Regions from separate parts of the Homo sapiens genome. Here region 1 is linked to region 2. The links are contacts of gene promoters, found by promoter capture Hi-C in human tissues and cell types (Jung and others, 2019). All regions are on one chromosome and are shown on one strand. Each heading gives the region's core, a stretch centred on a gene start or on the middle of the fragment in contact. The rest is flanking DNA. Distances are from core to core; before and after follow the strand shown.

What was found. Contacts are between HindIII fragments. The study calls those that stand out against the background at their distance.
Region 1: the fragment with the promoter of ALOX12B here is called in contact with the fragment with the promoter of SLC16A13 in region 2 in 1 of the 25 tissues and cell types used here (heart right ventricle).

The regions. Positions count from the first base shown.
Region 1 is chr17:8,086,405-8,089,104 of GRCh38, forward strand. It overlaps ALOX12B (arachidonate 12-lipoxygenase, 12R type), which reads right to left and starts at 1,312. Exons shown (of 15, transcript NM_001139.3): 1 at 892-1,312. The coding sequence starts at 1,038. It overlaps MIR4314 (microRNA 4314), which reads left to right and starts at 1,652; the gene lies at 1,652-1,743. RefSeq lists an enhancer at 340-1,088. The HindIII fragment of the contact is 32,393 bases long and covers 1-2,700 here.
Region 2 is chr17:7,034,714-7,037,413 of GRCh38, forward strand. It overlaps SLC16A13 (solute carrier family 16 member 13), which reads left to right and starts at 1,302. Exons shown (of 4, transcript NM_201566.3): 1 at 1,302-1,868; 2 at 2,014-2,157. The coding sequence starts at 1,670. RefSeq lists enhancers at 741-1,241, 850-899, 1,630-1,869. The HindIII fragment of the contact is 7,914 bases long and covers 1-2,700 here.

The DNA of each region.
Region 1 (2,700 bases), core at 62-2,561, 1.1 Mb after region 2:
TCCTACTGGATTCCTCTACCCAGGGCTATGTAGGACTCCAGCCCCTCCTTCTCTCCATCCCCAGCTCCTGTCTTCTCCCACTCCCCTCTCCAGGCACCTGAGGTTGCAGGAACCCTTCAGACCCCTGGGGACTTGGGTACCACTCTACAGTTTTCGAGTGGGGAGAGGCCCAGCCAGCCCCTTCTCCCATTCATCAATGAAGATGCAGATATTCAGAATGGCCACATAGATAGAGTGACCTATTAAGGTCGCCTAGCAGCAGGTGGCTGGGTCTGACTGAAAATCAGGTCTGAGGACCCGCAAAGCGTGCCTTCCACTGGACAGGCTGGTCTGATGCCATTTTAAGTCACAGAGAATCCAGTGCAAATGTGAGACAGTTAGGAGGCAGCTGAATTAGGAAGAGTGACTGAGAATGGAAGAGAGAGGGATGCGGGAGAGGGGGTAAGACAGAAAGGGGAGGAGAGCAAAGGGGAAGGAAAGCAGGTGGAAAGGATTGAGAAAAGAGAGATGCAGGATAGGCAGAGACAGGGAGAGAGGGCTGAGGAAGAGGGAGAGAGAAGAAAAGGATGGGGAGGGAGATGAGGAATGCCTGAAAGGGTTAGAGATGAAGGAGCAGGATGGAGAAGGATGGCCCAGAGATCTGGGACATGGGCGAGGGGCTGGAAGCCAGCTCTGGACAAGGCGTGTAGAGCCACTGGGGAGCCCACTGCCTTCGGAGCTGTGCCTCAGCTCTCCAGCCTCTCCTCGCCAAGCTCAGCTCACCTGGCTCCCCCTGCGCACCTTCACCCCTCCCGGGGCCACAAAGACACACAGACACACACAGACACACACAGACACACACACACACACACACAGACACACACACACACACACACACACACACACTCTTACCGCCCCAGTTGCAAAGTCTCTCCCAAAGTGGTTCAGCAGCTGCTTATGGCTCTCTCCTTGTGTCCCCACAATGGTCAGTGAGATGGAGTCCCGTGTTCCCGACAAGAGGTCGGTGCCTGTGGCCACCCTGACTTTGTAGGTGGCCATGGCTGCTCTTCAGGAGGCAAGAGGGGCACTCAGTCCCAGACACCGTGGAGGGGCCACACGAAGGCCCAAGGCAGGCAAGAGAAGCCAGGCACAGAGTGGAGTGGACAGGGCTGGCCTCCGAGGTGCAGTGGTGAGGTGGCGAGGTGGGGTGACTAGGCCTGCCAGCCAAATTCTGGAAAAGCTGCTGCCCTTGGTGGCCGGGGTGGGTGCCGGGCAGGCCCAGGCGGAGCCCAGCTGGTGGTGAGTGAGCAGGTGTCTGGGCTCCAAGCCTTCTGGGAGCTGGTGGGGAGGAAGAGCAGGCAGGGCACTGGGCCTGCCTCTGAAAGGGCGGATAGAAGATGCCGTGGATGAAGGCGCCTTCAGGGTGGGGGAGCCAGTCCAGCCTGAGCCAGGGCCCTAGGGAAGTTGCGGGAGGGGGCAGGGTGTGGTCCCCAGATCTTTATCAGACTAATAAGCTCCTTCCTCCTGCCAGTCCCCATTGGCTACAGTGCCAGGCACCCCTACTAAGCAGGGCCATGGGCAGTGAGTGACTTGCATTGGTTCTGAGGCCACTGGTGGGCGGGGGAGGGGAGGGGGAGGGGCACTAAGTGGCAGCGCAGCTGGCCAGCCTCCAGGCCATTCCTCTCTGGGAAATGGGACAGGTAGTGGCCACAGTGAGAAAGCTGGCCTGTCCTTCTGCCCCAGGGCCCAGAGTCTGTGACTGGAAGGGTGGGAGGTGTTGAAGCTAGGGCTCGGGGACCACATGGGTGCCCAAAGGCCTGAAGATGCTGCGGGGAGGAACGATCAGGGTAGGAGAAGGGGATCTGTTGCTTCCTGTGGGGCCAGGATCCACTGGTGAGGGATTGGAGTTGGATATAAAATCAGAAGCCCAAAAAAAAAAAAAAAAAAACTAAATTAGAAGACAGAGTGAAATCTGGGGCATAAGAATTAAGTTAAATAGCTGGGCGTGGTGGCTCACGCCTGTAATCCCAGCACTTTAGAAAGCCAAGGCAGGTGGGTCACCTGAGCTCAAGAGTTCGAGACCAGCCTGGCCAACATGGTGAAACCTTGTCTCTACTAAAAATACAAAAATTAGCCAGGCGTGGTGGCATGCGCCTGTAGTCCCAGCTACTTGGGAGGCTGAGGCAGGAGAATCGCTTGAACTCAGGAGGCGGAAGTTGCAGTGAGTTGAGATCGTGCCACCGCACTCCAGCCTGGGCAACAGAGCAAGACTCCGTCTCCAAAAAAAAAAGACAAAAGAATTAAGTTAAATAATGGATTAATATGATCAATATTTTGTGGTATAATCATAAAATAGAATTCTACCCAGGAATAAAAAGAATGAACTGCAATGCGGATGAGTCTCACAAAGATGATACTGAGCAAAAAGAGCCAGACATTAAAGGGGATACGTTCTGTTATCCATTGATAGGAACTTCCAGAACCAGCAAAACTGAGCAATTCTCAGACAACCTCTACTGGTGAGTATCCCTGGCAGAGGGAGGCCATATAGGCTGCTGGAGGTGTTCTTATCTTGATCTGAGGGGCGTCTAGGGTACTTCATTCATTTCATTATGTGTTATCCTTTAATTTCATAAAGTACATACCCTCACTTCCCTCCCAAAAAAGAATGAAGCTAGGAAGAGGGCTGGAGGCAGGGCTGAGCTCCAGTGGAACTGTGTT
Region 2 (2,700 bases), core at 52-2,551:
GAGCCAAGATCATGCCACTGCACTCCAGCCTGGGCCACAGAGCAAGACTCCATCTCAAAATAAATAAATAAATAAATAAATAAATAAATAAATAAATAAATAAAAGACTGGAACTGTGATCTGATTCTAAAGACCCGAGTTCTTAATCACTATGTAATACAGCCACAGCAATTTCTGTATCTTTGGCATATTCCCCACCAGCCGACATTTTGACTCTTAGAAAGTATATATGTGTATTATTGATGATTACTTTTATTTCCCACATATAAAATTATTTAAGGCTCAATATGTCTTTTAAGACTACACACCTCCCTCCCTGCCTCCACTTCTTGTTTGCTGCTTTCCCCAGTAATCTGGGAGTGAACATTGAGTCCACGGTTTCAAGGTCAGGGTCCTGGGAAGTATGGCTTATAATGAAGGAACAGGAAATCCAAGCCATTGGTGTTATGGAGACTGGGAAGGACTGGGGAGTGTTTGCTAGGGGCCTGAGGACTACTTGGGTAAGAGGGGGCTGACTGCTCCAGTGGCCAGGGTCATAGTTTGTCTCTTTAGTCTACCCCACCATCAGATCAAAAAAGGTGGTTAGGAAGTGGTTGTTACTAGAGGGCAGAGGAAAAGGTTCCAGCCCCAGTGAGGAAGAGGTAGGTGGTGTTGGTGGGGCCCTGTGTGAGCTTACAGCCGCCCTTCCTCTCCTCAGTTATTTTTGGTCTCTGTGACCTGTAGGTTTCCTGTTAGTGGGAACAGAAGTGACAGGAACGAGTTCCCACTACAGAAATGAACGCCAGGAGTCCAACTCATTCCCCTTCTCTCTTCCCTTAGCCGTTGAACTTCTCAGGGATCCAGGCTTCTAGGTCTGCGTGCCTAGGGCTGCGTGTTAGTGGCTTCAGGCGCTGCGCCAAACACTTCGTTTGAGTCTCATCTCCTAACCCCTCCCCTACCCCCAACAGGGCCTTGCAATTCCTGGACCCCTCATTAAAGCAAGAGAGTCCTCTCCTCTCCAGACCCAGTTTACCCACCACTAACCCTTCCGTGTGGCTCTGGGTGCTGAAACGGGGATGACTTGGCCCGCTAGGTGAAGAGGAGACGGAAGCTTCCTGGCAGTCCCCGCGTCACGTGGGGCCCTACCTAGTCAGCCTCCTAACGCCCCTCCTTACGCATGCGCCCATTCACTGCTGGTCCCCAACAATGCCTAAATCCCGCCCTGCCCTTCTCGTTCCGCCCCTGCCCGGGAGCCCCGCGTCCTCATTGGCGAGCTCCAGGGTGGCCCGGCCCGGACACCCCAGTGATAAAATAGATCATCTACACGGAAACTGGCGCGCTCCAGGGGTGGGGCCCAAACTCAGTTCCACCCTCTGGCTCCCAGCCGAACACCGAACCGGGACCGATCCGGCCCCGGCTTGAACTAGCTCAGCTCCGAGCTCGCGGAACCACGCCCCCGGGAGACTCTGGCCCGGCCAGCGCGGGCCAGGTCTTCAGTCCTATATCGCCCCGCCTTGGGAAAAGGTGCAGGGGCCTCTCGCCGCCTCGTCGGGCCCTTCCTCTCTACCTGCCTCTCCAACCCCTCTCGGCCCCGAGCCACCCGGCAGCGGGGGTGGGTGTGCAGAGGTGCGGCGTCCAGAACCCGGCTCCTGCAGAGGCTCTGGGTGGCAGCAGCCCTGTTACCGCTTAGATGGCGCGCAGGACAGAGCCCCCCGACGGGGGCTGGGGATGGGTGGTGGTGCTCTCAGCGTTCTTCCAGTCGGCGCTTGTGTTTGGGGTGCTCCGCTCCTTTGGGGTCTTCTTCGTGGAGTTTGTGGCGGCGTTTGAGGAGCAGGCAGCGCGCGTCTCCTGGATCGCCTCCATAGGAATCGCGGTGCAGCAGTTTGGGAGTGAGTGCGGCGCCTGGATCTGGCGGACTGCGACCCTCGGAAGGGAGAGGGAATGCGGCGACTGGGAAGTGGAAGGGCGAGGGGCGGGAGATGCTGGGGGGGAGACCCCTGAGATCTTCTCGCAGCGCCCCTTCCACTTCCTCAGGCCCGGTAGGCAGTGCCCTGAGCACGAAGTTCGGGCCCAGGCCCGTGGTGATGACTGGAGGCATCTTGGCTGCGCTGGGGATGCTGCTCGCCTCTTTTGCTACTTCCTTGACCCACCTATACCTGAGTATTGGGTTGCTGTCAGGTGAGAGCCTGCACAAGGGCAGGAGAGTCAAATGCTTAGATCGTTGGATGTTCACCTCCTTCCTGCTCCTTCCAAAGGGTTCGGGGAGAAGCTGAGGGAAAGTTTAGCTAGCACCTGTACCCAGAAGGGAATTCTTAATAGGAATGACTAAAGCGACAAACATGGTGAGGAATTAGGAAATTCAAGGATGATGAAACCTGGCCGGGCACGGTGGCTCACGCCTGTAATCCCAGCACTTTGGGAAGCCGAGGCGGGTGGATCACGAGGTCAGGAGTTTGAGACCAGCCTGGCCAACATGGTGAAACCCCGTCTCTACAAAAATACAAAAATTAGCCGGGCCTGGTGGCGCTAATCCCAGTTACTCGGGAGGCTGAGGCAGGAGAATCGCTTGAACCCGGGAGGCGGAGGTTGCAGTGAGCCAAGATCGCACCACTGCACTCCAGCCTGGGCGACAGAGCAAGATTCTGTCTCAAAAAAAAAAAAAAAAAAGATGAAACCAAGTATACAAGCCCAGAAGCCCAGGGCTAATGGGACTGGAGTGTA